4 separate regions of the Homo sapiens genome follow, and all the other regions are linked to region 3. The links are contacts of gene promoters, found by promoter capture Hi-C in blood cells and fetal thymus (Javierre and others, 2016). All regions are on one chromosome and are shown on one strand. Each heading gives the region's core, a stretch centred on a gene start or on the middle of the fragment in contact. The rest is flanking DNA. Distances are from core to core; before and after follow the strand shown.

The links. Contacts are between HindIII fragments. The CHiCAGO score rates a contact against its expected background, and 5 or more counts as called.
Region 1: a contact is called between a fragment that was not itself captured here and the fragment with the promoter of TMF1 in region 3, in 1 of 17 cell types (naive CD8 T cells). The highest score is 5.9, in naive CD8 T cells.
Region 2: a fragment that was not itself captured here is called in contact with the fragment with the promoter of TMF1 in region 3 in 5 of 17 cell types (total CD8 T cells, naive CD8 T cells, non-activated CD4 T cells and 2 more); the score reaches 10.7 in total CD8 T cells.
Region 4: a fragment that was not itself captured here is called in contact with the fragment with the promoter of TMF1 in region 3 in 1 of 17 cell types (total B cells); the score reaches 5.4 in total B cells.

Annotation. Positions count from the first base shown.
Region 1 is chr3:67,675,762-67,680,601 of GRCh38, forward strand. The region is part of intron 3 of SUCLG2-DT (SUCLG2 divergent transcript); the gene reads left to right. Among named protein-coding and RNA genes, the nearest start is that of SUCLG2-DT, 23 kb to the left of the region's middle. RefSeq lists a silencer at 2,994-3,153. The HindIII fragment of the contact is 1,906 bases long and covers 951-2,856 here.
Region 2 is chr3:67,658,625-67,663,581 of GRCh38, forward strand. The region is part of intron 1 of SUCLG2-DT (SUCLG2 divergent transcript); the gene reads left to right. Among named protein-coding and RNA genes, the nearest start is that of SUCLG2-DT, 6.4 kb to the left of the region's middle. The HindIII fragment of the contact is 2,558 bases long and covers 1,440-3,997 here.
Region 3 is chr3:69,049,994-69,055,180 of GRCh38, forward strand. It overlaps TMF1 (TATA element modulatory factor 1), which reads right to left and starts at 2,340. Exons shown (of 17, transcript NM_007114.3): 1 at 1,952-2,340. The coding sequence starts at 2,093. It overlaps UBA3 (ubiquitin like modifier activating enzyme 3), which reads right to left. Exons shown (of 18, transcript NM_003968.4): 18 at 4,737-5,187. RefSeq lists an enhancer at 1,932-2,401. The HindIII fragment of the contact is 2,649 bases long and covers 1-2,578 here.
Region 4 is chr3:67,073,035-67,077,944 of GRCh38, forward strand. It overlaps LOC124909391 (a long non-coding RNA gene), which reads left to right and starts at 3,000. Exons shown (of 2, transcript XR_007095954.1): 1 at 3,000-3,070. The HindIII fragment of the contact is 188 bases long and covers 3,015-3,202 here.

The DNA of each region.
Region 1 (4,840 bases), core at 654-3,153, 1.4 Mb before region 3:
GTGGAGTGCTGATAGTCCACATCCATTTTATCAAGGTTATGCGAGGTCAAGAAATTTGCCCAAGTTGAAGTCACTTGGAAGTGTCACAGTGGGGATTTTTTTTCCTTTAAAAAATTAAAAAAATTTTTTTCTTTATGATTTTTTTATGCATGTGTATTTTTAGTAGAGACAGGGTTTTGCCATGTTGCCCAGGCTGGTCTTGAACTTCTGAGCTCAAACAATCTGCCTCAGCCTCCCAAAGTGCTGGGATTACAGTTATGAGCTACCGCACCTGGTCCGGTGTGGGAATTTTAATCATGGACAGTCTAACTTCACAGTGCAGGCCTTTTCTGTTTCAGCATATCCCAAAACATGGATGACACAAACCAGTAACTACAAAGATGATAATTGGTGCTATGTGAAAATTACGTTTTTATATGGGCCAAATGAATTTGGTTAACAATAGGTGGAACAAAGTTAACCGTATTTCTTTACTATAGGATTTCTCAGAGCCCATAATATGCTAATTCACAAACTAAATCTGAGTTATGGCAGGCTCCTAGGATTCTAACCCCCTAGCCTACCTGTCCTATCTGATCTTCCACTGAGTGAGGGTGGGATTTGTGAAACTGATGGGATAGCACTCCTGTGAGTAGGCGATATGATGTAGCAAAAGTGAAGGATCACAAATCAGTTGACTTTACATTAGTCAAAAAGGAGAATCTCCTGTGTGGGCCTGACTAAATAAGAGGGACTGGGCTCTTCGCACTGACCTTGAAGAACAGACAGCTAAGTGCGACTGCCTGTGGAGAGAGTACATCTCTCTCTGCTGGGGGCCTCAGTTCAGCCTCTACCAGGAGCTGAATTCTACCATATGAGCTTGAAGGAGGACCCTGAATTCCAGGAAAGAACATAGCTAACACCATGATTTCACCCCTGTTAGACTCTGAGCAGAGGACCCAGCCAAGCCAAGCTTGGACTCCTGACCTAGATAAAAAATGGTTGCTTTAAGCTGCTAAGTTTGTGGTGATATGTTATGCAGCATAGAAAACTCATATGGGGATATAACATTTTGTTTTCAAGAAATCTTTCTTTTTTTCCCCAGAGTATCTTATGGGACTGGTGTTCCATAGAATCAACTTTGGGAAATGCTGTGTTTTTATGGCATTCTTTTCTCCTTCAGAGAAAGACTGATGGTTAGACACAGCCTCTGCTACCAGGAATGGTTGGAGCTCGTGATTCAGAGAAGGGATGCATGTCCCTTTGGTGAACCTGGTTTCCATGTGGGATGAAGGTTGAAGTTGATGAGTTAGTGAGGTGAGGTTGACTTGATGGTTGGTAGTGAGGTGAGGTGAGGTTGAGTGGGATGGTAGTGAAGGTTTAGTTGATGAGTTAGCAATGTTTAGTGAGAGTGATGGTTAATTTTATGTGTCCACTTGACTGGGCTACGAGGTGCCCAGATATTTGGTGAAATATTATTTCTTGGTGTATCTGTGAGGGTATTTCTAGATGATACTGACATTTGAATTGGTGGACTGAGTAAAGCAGATTGCCCTCATTAGTGTGGGCAGGCTTCATCAAATCTGTTGAGAAGGCCTAATAAAATAAAAGGCTGCAGCAGAAAAAATTCTCCTTCTCTGTCTGTTTTCAAACTGGAACATCAGTCTCCTGTTGCTTTTGGTCTTGGGTCTCCAACTTGCCTATTGCAGATCTTTGAATTTTCAGTCTCCGTAATCATGCAAGCCAATTCCTTATAGTAAATCTATATCTATAGTTGTATCTCTTATTGGTTCTATTTCTCTGGAGAACCTAGACTAATACAGCTGGGTTCACAGTGACAGAGAGTGGTAGGCACCTGGAGTCATGAGTGGGCTACTCAGATAGGTCCTCACATTGTGATATTTATCCTGGGGAATTATCACAGCCAAGGCACTTCCCTTCTCATCCTTACCGATTATGAAATTCACGCTATCAATGTCCCAGAATTGATGAACGATTCCTTCCAAAAACACTAAAAGAAGGAAATCAAAGTGCCCACAATTTACAATGATAAACACAAGAGTTGGATACACCATCTTTGAGTGGGTCTTATTGGGCCATCTTCCCCTTACAAAACATCACATTTGTGATGTTTTAGATATGGGTGGTAAGAAAGAAGGGCACATCCTAAACAACATCTAGGTTTCTGACATGTTAATAGAATGGTTGATTCACAGTGGCCATTCCTGAGAAAGGATCTCAGTTAAGTGGAGAAAGATCATTAGTTAAGTCATGCTGAACTTGAGATGCTTTTGAAACATCCAAAAAAAAAAGGAGCTGTTGAGATCTGCCTGGGCAACAAAGTGAGACCCTGTGTCTACAAAAAATAAAAAAGTTAGCTGAGCATGCATACCTGTCATCCTAGCTACACTGGAGGCTGAGGCAGAAGGGTTGATTGAGCCTAGCAGTTTGAGGATGCAGTAAGCTGTGTTCACACCACTTCACTTCAGCCTGTGTGACAGAACAAGACCCTGTCTCAGAACAACAACAACAACCAAAAAAAAAAAACTGTTAAAATTAAATATGTATTAAATATGTGGTCTCTCCCAGGCTGAGCATATATATATATATACATACATACATACATACATATATATGTGTGTGTGTGTGTGTGTGTGTGTGTGTGTGTGCACGCTCCATCTGCATAAAGATAATAATTGAACCTATGATCATGAATGAGATTATCCAAGGAGGGGGATCAAAAGAGAGGCCCTAAGATTCCTGAGGAATTGCTATGGCTAATGGGCTGGTAAAGGAGGATAAGCCTGAAAAGAAGACAAGAACCTTTTGTAAAAGCATAAGAAGATAGAGTTTGAGTTCCTACTTGAAGGATAATTAAGCTTCTGACTATAGATATCAGTAGGAAGGACATTCAGGGATAGAGGGAAGATAATGAACTAAATCATTCAGGGCAAAGTGAGCAGGGCAGATGAAGGCAAGGGCAAGTTACATAGTTTGATTGTTGAGGCTGAGAAAGAGAGAACTAAAAAAGGAGATAATTGCCTTATGACAAGCAGTCTGAAATGCTATTGTACAGATTTGTATTCATCCAGCAGACTTGTGGTTTTGAAACTCAGGAGGCCAGGTGTTAGTGCTCTGCACCTCCTGCCCACACATCACTGTGGCACCTTTGCTGCTATCTTTTCATGTGTGGCTAACATAGTATTTTGAGACATGAAGTTGTTATCTATAGAGTCACAGATATGAATCTATATTATGTTTCCTCTGTGTATTTCCTTCAGCTCAAATAAGAATATGCTGTATACAGTCATGGCCTGTTTTGTTTTTCCATAGTGAAGGCCACAGGTTGGAAACTCAAATTACCTAGAAGGATGAGACAGGGAACGTAAACAGGTGAAGTGGACTGGGTGCAAGAGAACCAGGAGATGATGAGGTCTGTAGTAAACTGAAGAGCCACTTTTCTTCTTTAAAGGATTCAAATCTAACTTAAACAACAAAACCAAACACTGTGCAAGCCACACAATGCCTGTCTGTGCGCTGTAGTCAGCCCCAGGGCCACCTATTTATGACCCCTTGATGAAATTTTGGAGGAATTGGGTGAAGAAGATAATAGAAAAGTAAGAAGACTAAAACTTACAGGTATACATACCAAAATGTGCTAAAGAAGTAAAGGGGAGCATATGATTTCCTCTCCCCGTCCCCCAAGATTAGAGGTATCCCTCCACATTGTGGAGGGGTTGGAGAGACCAAAGGGAAGTTTAGAAGTGCCTGAATCCTGGGGCTGCCTGGGAGGTAGTAAAGCCTTAGGACAATGGCTGTCCATGAACAGACACAGCATGGAAGCAGCAGAGACCCTGTGCACTGGAAGGGCCAGGTGGGCAGGAAGAGTGTGGGGGTAATCGATGCTAATTCCTTGGTCCCACACATCACTGAGAAACCAGGAAAGCCTGTCTATTGTTGAGACTTTCGGCTCAGCTGAGGATCCCAGCACCATGGTTCAACCCTGGGAATGTGGGAGAGGTCACGAATTAGACTGAGATTTTCTTCCCTCCTAAAAAAAAAAAAAAAAAAAAAAAAGAGGAACAATCAGAAATTAAGCTGTTATTTTAAAAATACAAATACAGATATATGACAAATTTTACCAACCTGGGTCTAAGGCCCAAGATTCGTGTCTCTTATGTACATTCTGGAGTTCTACAGAAAAATTATCTGGAAATAAACTGAATTCACTGCTGTGAGTGACCAATTACCCCTATTTGCCACGGCTCTCTCAGTCTTTCAAACCTAAAATGCTAAAGCTGGGGAAGTTCCAAGCAAAGCAAGACAAACTGATTTCTCTATCACTGCCAATGAAGCACTAGCAAATTCCTTCCCTGAACAAGGGTAGGTTTTTGAAGAGGAGAGTGTTATGATCAGAGCTGTGTTTTGAGATCAATCTACTTGCCATGTGTATAATGAGTGGGAAGAGAAAAGAGGCCCTGAGACCAGTTCAAGTTGGGCAGTGGCTCTGATGAGAGAGAGAGGGGGTCTGGATTAGGAAAGAGGGTGTCAGAACATAGAGTAGAGGCAAGATTCAGATGATGCTGTAGTGATAAGTGGTTATGTCACCAAACTGGGGGATGTGGAGTCAGGTTTTCGTAACTAAATAAAACCTTAGCCATACTGGCTGATTTTTAGGCAGTATCTCCATCAGCCTATGCCAGTAGTTCTCAACCAAGGAGAGATATTTGGCAATGACTAGATGTTGTTGGTTATCTCAACTGGTGAATGCTACTGGTATCTCATAGGTAGAGGCCAGAGATGTGTATAAACATTGTACAACACACAGGACAGCCCCCACAAGCAAGAATTATCCATCCCT
Region 2 (4,957 bases), core at 1,469-3,968, 1.4 Mb before region 3:
CTAGCACTGGACTTTGATTAGAAAAAGTAATCAATAAACATATGTGGAATGAATTGCATTATAGAGTTCCTCGTAAGATTTCTCCCTATTTCATACTCCCCGCTTCCACCCTCCAACCTCCCCCAAATAGGAATCTCTTTGAGAACAGGGAATCTAGATTCTACCAGAGTTCTGCACTGTGCTTTCCTGGAACAAGCATTAAGTTTTCAGCCAAACTGGATTGGATTCAAATCTGACCTCCACCCCCTTGAACACCTGTGACTAGGAAAATACCTGGTTCATAGGGTAGTAGTAAGTAGTCAATGATCAGATGTTGCATGTAAAGACCTTGCACATAGTAAAGACTTCATAGATGTTCTTTTTCTTCCTCTAGTGGGTCCATAACAAATATTTGCTTGATATCAAATGTGAAACACTAGGGCCAATCTGAGATGTAGGTTAGGAGACCCCTGACACTTTGTAATTTATCTTGATAGCACTGGAGAATTACAGAGATGTACAAATGCCAGACAAAAGTATTAAGAGTCTAAAGTGGTTGCCTCCAAGAAGAGGATAGAGAGTAGTGGTCAAGGAACCATTACATTTTGTTTTAGAGTTTCAAATATTCAGATTCCTGGTCTCCACCTCATACTCATGAAATCAGAATCACTTAGGATGGAGACTGGGACCTGCATTTTAAATAATCTTTCCAAAGTGTTCTTTAGTTTGAGAACTAAAAAAGCAAACAAAGCAAACCATAGTGGTGAACTCTGAAGATGTTTCCTGGTGAATCCAAAGACGAGTTACTCTGCTATCCCCCATTTGGTTCCTAAATATAGGACAAAAAGTTGATAAATCATAGATGGAGATGATGACTGGTGCTTTCAGAGAGCCTTGACACCTGGTACCAGACCCATTTTCTACCCGTGGTCTAAATCGGCTGCGACATGTAGAAGCATTGGCTTAAGGTGAATGAACAGCTATTCTACGCTTTTGCTGTGTCAAAATGGCAATTGTGAACTGCTTGAACAGTAACTATGGCCATAGGCAATAGCACTATTGAAAGCATTCTGCACTCTGATATCAGACTGAAGCACAGAGGTAGACATTGCAAGTGTTGACTCTGTGATTTAAAAGCTCCATGACCCTGGACCAGTTACTTAACAATCTCAATTCCTTGATCTGTGGAAAGGGGATTATGATAGTACCTATTTTGCCAATGAGATGCATCCTCAAACACTTGAGATCCCAGTGGCTGTTACCTACCATACCTTCATTATTTGACTAAGAACTCTTTTTCGTGTGTTTATTTCTTTAGTATTTACATCTGTGAACCTCAGTTTTCCTATTAGTAAAATGAAGGTCAAGTATGACATCTTATTTGAGCTGTGAGTTGACAGTGTAACACTTCTCATAAACTGCATGCATTTGAAATATGAAGTTGTAAAACTCTACGATTAAGCTTTGTATTTCTAGCACCTTGGCTATACTGTTTCTTATTCAGTTAATTGTTGCAAAAAGAAAAATAAAAACATCAGCAGGCCTATATGCCTTCGCTTTCATCTTAGCAGTGCCTGTTAACAGTGAAATAATGTGCTCATTTTCATATTCGCACTGATTACTCTAGGGGCGCAGATTTACCAGAGAGACATATCATGAAACCCAGCAAAGGGATACTGCATCTAGCAGTTCTGGTGGTGTTTTATCATTACCTTTTCACTTGAGCATAAAAACTGTTTGACAAATACTAATTGTAACCAGCAGAGCTGAATAGAATATTTTAAGAAACAACCCTAATTTTCATGAATTACATATTTGAGTTCATACTGCTGCATGTCAAGAATGAAAATCACTATTACAATGATGAAATAAAGGGCATCTGTGGATTTCATCTGGTTAATTTTTTAATGGATAACAGATTTCTGGAATTTACAGGAGACTAAACTTTTTGGTCTTTCATTGTATGCATAGGTAATATCACTGTTGCTATTTGTGATAGCCATTTTAACCAGTGATTCAGTTGTATTGTTTGCCAGTGGCACAGAAAGAATGGTCATTGTGCTCAAGTTATTTTTCCCTCTTCAATAATGCGTTAAAATGATTAATTTTGATGGTATTTCTCAGCAGCTTTATTTAAATGACGGTCCTCTGTATCTGTGGGTTCCACATCTATGATTCAACCAACTGCAGATTGAAAATATTCTGGGGAAAAAATAAAAAATAACAATAATAAAAAATGATACAAGTAAAAAATACAGTGTAGCAACTATTTTCATAGCATTTACATTGTATTTGGTATTACAAGTAATCTAAAAATGACTTAAAGTATACAGGAAGATGTGCATAGGTTATATGGAAATATTATGTCATTTTATATCAGAGATTTGAGCATCCATGAATTTTATTATCCATGGGAATTCCTGGAATCAGTCCTCCATGGACAGTGAGGGACGACTATGTAAGGTGCCTAGAAGAAAAGGGATTTATGACAAAAACTGTCTCCTTTGCCAACACTGAAGTGTGCTCAAGAGAAATTCTCACTGCATCCTGGAGAGAATTCACAGGAAGCAAGTTTAGAGCAGTGGTGACAGCTCAAAGTTAAGATAAGAAAGGAGGAAGAGTAAGGAACATCATTAACTTAGGGAAGGCCCAGCTGGAGACAAGGTCAGTGGAAGAGACTAAAAACAGAGAACAAGATGAAATGGTGGAAACAAGGGTGATGACATTCTTTTGGCAGGAAGTTTGGAGCTGGATGAAGAAGATGGTAAAAGCTGAGGAAAGAACATTTACACAAAGGACTGTGGAGGTTCTTGAACCGAAAGAGAAAAGTAGCATTAGATTGACTGTGGAAAAGAAGTTAGAAACAAAACCTAAATTCTTATTGCAATTGGAACCTGCGGAGTTCAGCACCTTCAATATTATTAAGATAGCTTCTTTTAAACAGTAAAGTAAAAATTAAAGGAACATTCTTTTACAAATGTCCTGCCTCATTATAAAGTGAGCAGCCACAGCAGTGGTTCTTTTTCTTCTTCTCTTTTTTATTTTTTGAGATTGAGTCTTGCTCTGTCACCCAGGCTGGAGTGCAGTGGCATGATCATAGCTCACTGCAGCTTTGAATTCTTGGGCTCATGCAATCCTCCCACCTCAGCTTCCAGAGTAGCTGGGACTATATATATGTGCCACCACACCCGGCTAATTAAAAAATATATATTTTTATACAGATGGGCTCACTATGTTGCCCAGGCTGGTCTTAAACTCCTGGACTCAAGCTATTCTCCCTCCTCAGCCTCCCAAAGCTATGGGATTACAGGCAAGAGCCACTGTGCCCAGCCACAGGCCATGGTTCTTAGCTTAGGTGTGTAACAGAATTCCTTTGGGCCATCCTCTCCAGAAGTTCTGATTCAGTAGGTCTGTCTTGGGGCTTGAGGATCTGCATTCTTATAAATAATGCCCCTACTCCACTGTCTTTGTTGTAGGTGGTTCATGCTTCATGGTTGGAGAAACACCAACATCAGCCGGGCGCGGTGGCTCAAGCCTGTAATCCCAGCACTTTGGGAGGCCGTCACTGGCAGATCACTTGAGGTCAGGAGTTCAAGACCTGCCTGGCCAACATGGTGAAATCCCGTCTCTACTGAAAATACAAAAATTAGCCAGGCATGGTGGCAGGCACCTGTAATCCCAGCTACTTGGGAGGCAGGGGCAGGAGAATCACTTGAATCCAGGAGGCAGAGGTTGCAGTGCATCAAAGGTAGCACTTTGGCATAGCTAGAGGGAATATCAGCAGCTATCCCATTCCCACCTTTCACATTTTCTCTTCCCTTTCTTCCCCTACTTCTACCATCCTCTTCAAACTTTCCCCAGCCCCTCTAAAACCTAATTTACTACATGCCAGCAAGAAGTATGGACTGAGGCTCCAAAAGATGCCTCTATGCTCTTCCCTCTATCTGAAACACCCTTCCCTGTTGTTCACCAGCATGAGTTTCTCTCATCCTTTGAGTTTCAGTCACCCCCTTCAGGAAGCTTCCCTGAAGCGGGAGCTAGGGGTATCTCAGTGGTTATTAGAGGTTTGTTACTGCATTTGCTACTTGTCTGCTTCATCCTTCAGGATTTTAAAATCTGCAATGACAGGGACCGTGTTCTTGCAGTGTTATTATTCTGCCCACAGTACAGTGCCTGGAAGACAGGAGGTGCCCAACTGCTATTGACTGGATGGGTAAATAAATAAAGATGAAGCTGGTGCAAAAATCTCCCTAATAAGAAGATGCAAAGATTCATGAGTGTCTGGAAATCTGCCAGTAGTCCCCAGTGAGAAAGGAAGTGGAGGCCCATGAAGGGAAATAACCTGCCCTGTGTGATGCACTACACTAGTGGTTTTTATGTACAGTTCCTCAGAGTCCTTGGACACCATAGAACTCCATCTCACTCTCTCCTTCTCCCTGCTTTTATTGAACACTTAGGTGCTTTCTAAATGCTTTACAGAAATTATCTTAATCCTCACTACCGACTTATTTTGCAGACGTACAAACTGAGTCTTAAAGCAGAGAGTAAGTGGCCTGATGTAAAGAATAGGAGAAGGCCAATTCCAACCAATCTGGAATTGATTCTAGGCCAGAATTGTCCAATAGAACTTCCTGCAATGAGGAAAATGTTCTATATCTGTGCTGTACATTATCATGCTATGTGGCTATTGAACATTTGAAGTATGGCTGGTGCAACTGAAGAAATCAATTTTTAATTTCATTTGATTTTATTTAATTTATACTTAAGTTTGAATAGCCACACATGGCTAGTGGCTATCATACTGGTCAACATGGGCTATCTAATTCTGATGTACAGTCTCTGCATCATCATTCCATTTTCTAAAGTGGGTTTCTCCCACAGCAGTTGTTAAAACAAGGATTTGGATACAAAGAGATTATTTAAGAGGTGATCCTAGACAGCAGGAGAGGGATTGAGGAGGTGAGATGGAGAAGGTGAA
Region 3 (5,187 bases), core at 1,090-3,589:
TCACGCTTGTAATCTCAGCACTTTGGGAGGCCGAGGCGGGCGGACCACCTGAGGTCAGGAGTTCAAGACCAGCCTGGCCAACATGGTAAAACCCTGTCTCTACTAAAATTACAAAAATTAGGCAGGTGTGGTGACGCAAACCTGCAATCCCAGCTACTCGGGAGGTTGAGGCACGAGAATCACTTGAGCTCAGGAGACAGAATCTGCAGTGAACAGAGATGGCACCACTGCACTCCAGCCTGGATGACAGAGTGAGACTGTGTCTCAAAAAAAAAAAAAACAAAAAAACAAATATATATATATGTAAATATATGTATGACTTCAAAGGCAGTTAGGATGAAAAGTATGTAGAAAACTTCAGTTTGGAGGCATAGTTCTACACATTCATTTGCACAATATCCAAACCAGAGAAAATCAAAATTAAATATGCAAATGAACAACCAAGATTATGTCTGATTAATTTAAATACATTCAAAAGATGACAGGAATTAATTTTGCCTCTTGGAGAATACTTTATATAATCCCAGGGTTATTTGGTATCCATCTAAATTATACCATTCTGAAGACTATGGGCATTTTCCGAAAACAAATATCCTTATATGTAAAACCTATATTCTATCTTATCTAAAGTTTAGTAATTCTAATTAACTGGGGCACATATGAAAAAACAGAGTTACTCCAGCAAGGTTATATGACATCTTGTAAAAAGTAAAGAGGATCATCACATACACACATGGACCAAAATATCTTAAACTGAGGTACCTCAAATTTAGGTCCTGACTTTTCAATGATGTAAAATTAAGAACAGAAACCAGAAAGGAGTAGTCAAGTACATCTCTTATCCTTTTTCACACAAAGGTTCACATCCCCCAACACCAGCAAATCTTTACCCCACACATCAAATGCTGAACTGTTCCTTAGACTTAAGAGTCAAAAGCAACTGAATGAAGATCCCTGAAAGATTAAGCTCAATGAAACTGCAAAGAGAGACTTGGCTATTCAGAAATAAAATGTGATACCATCCAGAAATCTTGGGTCACACATTTTCCGGCTAATACCTCCGGCACATTCTAATCCTCCTCCGCCGTGTGACCTAGAGCAAGTTACTTGGCCATTCTGGGCCTCATTTTCCTCTTATGTAAAACACGGATATAAACCAAGCTCTCTCTGGGAGTTGTTCTGAAGATGAGAAGGCCATAAAAAAGCACATTACAGGCTCGTGCCTGTAATCCCAGCACTTTAGGAGGCCGAGGTGGGTGGATCGCCTTAAGTCAGGAGTTCCACCAGCCTGGCCAACATAGTGAAACCCCGTCCCTACTAAAAATACAAAAAGTTGCCGGGCGTGGTGGTGGGCGCCTGTAATCCCAGCTACTAGGGAGGCTGGGGAAGGAGAATCGCTAGAACCTGGGAGGCGGAGGTTGCAGTGAGCCGAGATCGCGCCACTGCACTCCAGCCTGGGCGACGGAGTGAGACTCCGTCTCAACAACAACATAAAACCACATTACGCGCTACCAAGCGCGAAATGTTCACTGACTGTTAGCGATTGTTCTTCCCTTCCCTGATGATTTACGTACTTCAGACCTTGGATCCCAACAGTGCCCGAGACGCGAAGCAATTCGAGGTTCAGGTTCGGGAAGGTTGTGCTTGGAAGCTGCGTCGAGGGAGAGCTTGAGGGCAAGACCAACCAACCAAGTCCCCTGTCATCCAAGTCCACAAGCCTCGCACCCAGGACCAAAGAAAGACAAGGGGGAACCTGGATCTGGGTTTTCCCTCAGGAAAACAGCAAAGACCGACTTGGAGGCTGAAGCAGCATTAGGGAACGGGCCGGGGAGAAATTACTTCCTGAAAACTCTCTCAGCAAGGAAGGACCCCTCTCTACACCACTTAACCTGCCTGCATCAAGAGAACAGCAGCCTCCGGGAGCCAGGAACCCCGCTCCTCTCTCTCTTACCCGGCTCTCCATACGGAATGGTCTCGGCCCAGATGCTCGGCTCCTCTTCCTGGATGTCCAGAACCCTGTCAATAGACTTCTGGGCCTGGGACAGGGCCTGCTTAGCGAAGCTGGAGAGCTGGGAGGCGTTGAACCAACTCATCGCCCCTCCTCAGCCGGCAGTGGCGGCGGCAGCACCAAGCGGGAAGGCCTCAGGCCTGGGGAAGGGTGCAGAGGAACGGCTTCGCTCCCCTTTTCCACTCGGCTGGTTCTGTCAGCGTGTGGCCATTACCCCGACAGCCTCCCGCGAGCCCGGGATGTTACCCTCGGCCGTTCCCGCACAGCTGAGACGAAGGGGGCCCATGTGCGCATGCGCTTGCTTCTTCCACGTACACAGCAACCAAATCTACGAGCCCAGAGTTCGGTCGACAGACGGAAGAACAGAAGAACGTTGACGTCACATCCGGGAGCGCAGGGTTGCCGTTAGTTACCGAGGAACGCGGAAGGGTTTCTATTGATGTCGATTTCGTGCTTACAGCAGTTCTTAGCGAAGGGGAAGCTATGGCTACCGATAGAGGTCGATTTCCCCGGAAGGAATATTCAAGTTTTCGTGTGTGTGCTTTCCAGGAAAATAGTTCACGTGCTAAAAGCTTGCACCTTGCCAGCAATAATTGCAAAGGGAAATTGGGCCTCACACTTCTCTTAGCCCTTTGTCTCAAATATTTAATAAGCTCTGTATTAACTTGGTATTGTAAGGAGAAACACTTGTTTGGGCTTGCCTAAAAGACAGGATCACGTATGAACACTGTGTCCAACTCGTGGAACACATGGTGCATAAAGCACAACCTCTCTCTCAAAATAGTAGTAAACTCATTGCTGCAGTCAAAATACCCCTAATACTGTGGTCTGTCGGTGTCCCCTGCACAAATTCCTATGTTGAAACCTAATCTCCAATGGGACAGTATTAAGGGGAGCCTTTAGGAGATGATTAGATGATGATGGAGCCCTCATAAATGGGGTTAGTGCCCTTATAAGAGAGGCCCAAGGGAGCTCACGGCAAGAAGGCACCAACTCTAAGCCAGAATAGCAGCCCTCACCAGACACCAAATCTGCCGGCTCCTTATCTTGGACTTCTCAGCCTCTAGAACTGTTAAGAAACAAATTGCTACTGCTTATAAGCCACCCAGTTTATGGCAATTTGTTACAGCAGTCCAAATGGACTAAGACACCTAGGAAGCACTAAAGCTGTTATCCTAACAATGTGCACTGTGCATATTACTTAAAACATAACCTTTTCTGTGTGCATTCTCTTCGAACATTTGGACATGGGAAAATACCTTAAATTGGTGGCCTTCCTAATCCAGTCTGCAGCTATATTTGGTTTGGGCCCAAGTTAAAGACAAAATCCTAACTAAAAGCCAGATTTCATTCAAAAATCTAGATTTCCAGCTGCTTTTGAAAAATATGAATACCAAGCATGGGAATAGTCAGCCAGAGTGGTCACCAAATAATTTTCACTCACTCCAGTTTGCCACAGACCCCTATCACTCATCCTATTACACCCTCCCTGCTGTGATTATTTACCTTATATGCCTGCCTCCCATATTTGAATATTTTACCCCACTGCAAGGAACTCTGCAAAAAAGAATTATTTTTCTTTTAAAAAATCAGATTGAACCCCTTAAGAAGTTATAATCATCTTCCAATAATTTTATCTAACTACAGTAAAAACTTGCATGTTAAAACTAACAATTTAGTCATGTACACAAGTAGTACCAAGTAACTCAAGTACTTTCAAACAGCTAAGTAGTCTGCAGAGGAGATTTGGGGCAGATTCGGGTTGAAATTAGCTGTACAGTTACAGTTCCAAGACTTCTAATTGTACAGCTTTGGTGAAATGACCTACCTAAACCATCTAAAACTATTTATTCAGCTCTCAGATAGAGTCACCTTCTTACAATGCTACTTTGAGAATTATTATAGCACCTATATGGTGCTAAATTTTAGTTCCTTCACTTTCAAAATTGTAAGCTACACCTGTAACTTTTCAGGTAGAGCTTATAAATTTATTCCGTATGGTTTTATAATAAAACTTATTTGTCAATATGTAGCTAGAAAGATTACTGAAAACTTAACTCAGTGACACATAAGTAACCAAAAAACATTTGAACAGAAAACTGCCATATCTAAGTCAAAAACAAAGAATGAGAACACATACATGTTCTCATATTAAAATACTAGCACCTACTTTTTTAGTATTTGTACTTAATTTTGTTTGAAGTTTTATTCACTTAAAAGAAACAAAAACATGGTCAGGCATGGTGGCTCATGCCTGTAATCCCAGCACTTTGGGAAGCCGAGGGGGGCGGGGGGGGGTGGATCACCTGAGGTCAGGAGTTTGAGACCAGCCTGGCCAACGTGGTGAAACCCCGTCCCTACTAAAAATACAAAAAATTAGCCGTGCATGGTGGCAGGCGCCTGTAATCCCAGTTACTCCGGAGGCTGAGGCAGGAGAATTGCCTGAACCGGGGAGGCAGAGGTTGCAGTGAGCTGAGGTTGCATCATCGCACTCCAGCCTGGGCAACAAGAGCGAAACTCTGTCGCAAAAAAAAAAAAAAAAAAAATTATATTGATACAGAAAGTTAAATTAAACCAGTAAATTTTTACTATAGAAATTGCTGTAGCAAAAGTATTAAGTGCAATAAAAATTTGATATAACTCTGCTACACATTTAAAAATTATTCCTATATTACCATGGAACTACTGATTACCCTTAATGTACTTTTAAAAACTTCAGTGAAAGAAGTACACAATATATGATTTTATTAATAAATAGTGCAAAAGCATCAGTGATAACTGTTTGAACATTAAATTTTTTAAACAGCCATGTCTTGGCATTAGTTAATATTGTGCATATTGGCCTCTATGGCACTACAAGTAAACAGATGAAAATATTGCCCATTTTCATGCACAGGTATTCAGCTATAACACCATTTACAAATCATTATGAACAAGATAAATTCTGCAATAATATTCATTTGGATGGCCACAATTAAATGAGTGTTATATCAAGAAATAGCCTATGTTCAATATACTCCAGATGTCAGATTGTAAAATGTAATGTTATTTAAAACTTAATTCTTTATTTTCCTTAAAGGGACACCTTTTGTGTATTTGGGTACTCAAATGAAAACTTAGGAATGCATTCTTTGACCATAATAACAAAATTCACACAAAAGAGGTTGTATGCTTCCTCC
Region 4 (4,910 bases), core at 1,859-4,358, 2.0 Mb before region 3:
TGCTGAGTCGAATGGTTATTTTGCTTTTAGCTCTTTGAGGAATCACCATACTGCTTTCCACAATGATTGAACTAATTTACACTCCCACCGACAATGTATAAGTGTTCCCGTTTCTCCACACCTTGCCAGCATCTGTTATTTCTTGATGTTTTAATAATAGCTAGAAATGCAGATTTTTAGCTCTATCTACTAAATCAGAAACTCAGGTGGAATCTACTACTCTATATTGTAACAAGACTTCTAGGTGATGCTGGTGCTCACTAATGTTTGAAAACCACTGATTTGGGTGGACTGCAAGATTCAATCAAGGTGTGGCGTAATGGCAGTCAGGAGATGAGGATGCTGGATGTATTGTCAGCTGCAATTAATTAGCTGTGTGACCTTGGGGAAGTAGCTTGACTAATTAACTGGATCTAGTCTCCTTAGTTGCAAAGAGAAAAAGATATCAATTCCTTGGAGTGAGAGTTCTGCAAGTGGGATTTATGGGGGCCCAGGTGGTTTATTGAGGGCCTTATCAGAAATTTAGTTATCTCAGAAATAAAAATAATACCACAAATAATAAAAATAATAAGCAAAAGTGTTTTGTGCTTAAACATATTCAGTGATTTTGAAATATAGGATATGAATGTTATAGAAATATTATAAAATCCTCCTTCCCATATGTTCTGAGGTCTGGGCTACAGAAGCCTGATTAGTTCTCAGTAACTTTTAGTTAACAGGGTGCAGATCATTTCACTAATGTGTTTTCACATCATTTTCTTATTGCCATTTTCATTAGTTAATTTCCCACTTTTATTTGCTACAGTTATACTATGTTATAATTGCAATTTTTAATAATGGTTCTACGGCTCATGAGTGGCTCATTGATACTTTGGTTTTTTTTTTTTTTTTTTTTTGGCATGGCATCTCTTTCTAGATTGCTACTTTAAAGTGCCAATACAATAACTACATAAGTGTGATTTCAGAATTACACTGATGATGCAATAAATAGCACTTTGAGGTGAATGTAAGATTTGAATCTGTTTAGGTAGAGACAAGTGAATCTTCAACATGAAGATTTTACATGGCAGTTGAAAGAGTGTCATGTGAAATAAAAAAAAGATCATCTAAATATTTTCTTAGTTTTCACCATGCTGTCTGTTATGAAACTTTGAGAATATGCCATTATATTTGTAGCTTTTCTCATTGACAAAAAGACAAATATCATATTCTATCCAGAAGCTTATTAATAAAACATTAATGACATATAACATCTCAGTAGAAATGAGATAAAAACTCTTGCTGGATTCCTTTGTGACAGCATTGGGTGATAGTATAATCCCAGTAATTTGTAACATGGAAGGGCACCTGCTCATATTCTCATGCATATGCTAAGATGGATGAATGCGGTAAGATGCAAGCCATGAATCTACTTTGTGCACACACACCTAGCACACAGATGATGGAATAATGCTCAATGGCTTTATTTTTATTTAAAATTTTATTTGTATACAGTTATGGGTTACAAGGATAATTTTGTTACATGGATATATTGCATAGTGGTGAAGTCAGGGCTTTTAGTGTATCCATCAACAGAATAACACACATCGTATCCATTAAGTAACTTCTCCTCTGTTTCTGCTTGGGCAGTAGAGTTTTATTTTTTTTTTATTTCATGTGATATCCCCAAGACCAGATTCTCCACAACACATTATTATCTCCAGTATCAAAATGTATCACTGCACAGCCAAATCACTAAGATTTTTCAAGATCAAACTGTGGAGTAGATGGCTTGATAGACAAGAGTCTGACTTGTTTCCCCAAATAAGTTGACTTTTTCACCTTTCTAAGAGAAAAATCAATAATCTCATTGGCCATTACACACACACACACACACACACACACACACACACACACATGTTGTAACCGAATAAGAAGAATGCTTTCCAGAGCCCAAAACAACCAGAGTGATTAAGAATCCATTAGCTGCCATCTTTCAAATTACTTATTCAATCTTACAGCTTTTGAATGGATATGATCATCTGATGGTGCACTGTAGTCTTCAGCGAAATCCTATACACAATTTCTTGGTCCATCCATGTTCAGTGAGACTATGTAAAACTGTTGGAGCCAAGAATCTCATGCCACCACTTTTACCTCTAGTTTCATGTTCATATTTTATCCACAGTTTACATAAGTCCTCTGTTTAGTTTTCCTGAATTTATATTCATGGAATCAATGTTTTGCAGCACACACATTTTTAAGGAATTAAGGCCTATGGAGTCTTTCAAGGAAACCAAGGATTGCTTTCCAGTTTGAAGCTGCTTTCCTCTTTTTGTGTTTTCTATGGACCTAAAGAAATGAAAACTCTCAGTTGAGATTTTCAGGAAAGTACCTGACTACTGGCTGACTCAATAAGTTGCTATGAGAAATTAAATATGCAAATCATTTTTACATGCACATTTATATAGGGAAAACACCTGCACACCTGGATCCCCAGCAGTCTCTGCTGATTAATATGCATGTAACCCCGAACTGCCCGTTGCTGGGTAATAAGAGTTTTAAATGTACTTGGCTTATTTTCAAGTAAATCTCTGGGTCTTCAGTACTGCAATTAAATGTGCCAGGTTAGATGCTCATTTCATGTCAAATCCACTTCCTACCCTATGAAAGAAGTTCTATTTTTGCATTTAATAGGTATTTTGTCTTTACTTTGGAAGAAAAAAAAAGACTCCTGTTAACAGCAAACAATGAGATTTACAATGTAAAGAAAACCACCCGGTAAACTAGAATGTTTTACAGAGTGATTTAAAAAAATAAAAAGGTTGGGGAAGATGGTTCTGCCATGAAACAGCTGAAAGATCAAATGTAACTGAAAAACACTGGGGCCAGGTTGCCTCTGATGAATGATATCTCCTTTTTGATAGTGTACTTGTAAAATTCAGGTTATACATGCACCATTTTATTTGGGAATCTACAAAGCTTTGGAGATAGGTAGCAACAAGTTGGTTATTTTTTTAAGGTGGAGAAATTGAAGCTTGGCATCCCAGTGTCCCATTCAAGACGTTCCAAGCAGTAGATGGAAATGCAGGTGAGCAGTAGAGTTCATTCGAATTCACTTCCCTTGTTCAGGCCCCTCCCGCCGTGCCATTGCTATTCTTTCTGCGTGGGTATTGCTCATTCTTCGCCTGAGAGTATTTATTCTATCTTCACTAGAAATGAAAGCTTTAACCTATGGGCTTTTCATTTAAATAACATCATTTACATTTTATTTTATTTTTCAAACAGGTCTCCAGGGACAGAATCTCTGGGAATTAATTATGTACCACACAAGACTCTAAAAAATATGAGGTTCAAACTGGCTGATGTTACTTATGGAAATGGGCTGCCAAATAAAACAATCTAAGAAATATTTAACAGTGACATCTGACACATCTTATTCCAAATTAGGTATCACATATCTTATGACAGTCCAACAGAAAGCAGAGTTTTATTGTGCATGTTTTGCTTTAAAAGATTATTCCTTTTGCACCTCAGTAATACAAATAACAGTTTATAAGCATTTATACTCTATCATTAAAAACTCACATTAATATAAGACTATACTAATAGAACCTAGTTTAAACACATGTGTATTTGTAGGTTTATATAAGTTCATATGTCAAGCATTAGATAATTTTAATTGCTCAACGTAATCTTTAAAACAACTTAATGAGATAAGTAGTAGTATTTTTATTTTATACATACAAGGAAAGTGAAACCTTTAAAAAGTGAGGCAAGGTGAGTGACTCATTCAACTTTACTGGGCTTTTGCCTGTCCCTTTTGACCCTGCCAACGGAAGTATTTCTTCCTCTGTCCTTTTTTCCACACATTTCACCTTCTATTTACTTAAATATACTTTTGTTCTTCTGAACTCAAGCTAGTATTTTTGATATGGGGAAGGCAAATTAGTAAAGAAAGGCAGTTGATATTTAGTCCAAAAATAAGCAACCTAGTTAAAGAACATAAAAGAGATAAAATATTCTAGAGTTGGCTCTAATTTTCTGTTTTTTGCTTTACAAACCAGTTTTATTTTACATTGCCAATGACTTTTGGAGTCACTCTCTTCACACCACTTTAGCCACCCATTGATAATCACATTTTTACATCTGTCAGTGAAATTTACTCAGTCCTGATATTGTCAATTTAGACACTGCGTTCCCAGATCACAACCTTCTTTTCTTTCAATTCTCTCTATTCTTTCCAAGAAATCAGCCTTTGCCTACACTCAGGACTACAGTCCTTTCTGGTTTCCCTCCCAGGCTCCTCTGTCTTAATTTATTTCACTTTTCACTGCTCAGCTTAGAATTTGCTTCTCTTCAATCACTGTCTTACAAATATTCTGAACTCCCTTGACCTCTTAACCTTTTCTTGCACTTGACTGACCAAATTCCATCTATATTTGGACAAATCCCAGAATCTACCTTTTTCATATGCAGACTTCTGGGAAGTGCTGAATACAACTGTGCAAACTAAGGCTAATATATGATTGTGGTCACTGACCTCAAATGGCTTGTTCTTTTTCTCTAATAATACTATTTTCAGTTTTATATAGTCTCTTTTGCTTATTTTTTACAGCACTTAAGTAAAATATTCTCCACTCTTGTCAAGGCTTCATTTCCTTATCTCATCATCATCTTCAGAGAAAAAAAACTAGAAGTAATCAGAGGAAAATTACCTCAACCTTCTTCCATCAAGTCCAAGTATTTTTCTTTCCTGCACTGTACTGTTTTAGTTGGGGTTTTGCTAAAACCAAAGGTGAGGTAACATAGAAATGCTAATGCTTTATAGGAAAGTGTAATCCCAAGATGGTGTGAGTCAGAGGATGGTGCAATGGTTTGAATGTTTGTGTCCCTTCCAAAATTCATATTGAAACTTAATCACCAATGCA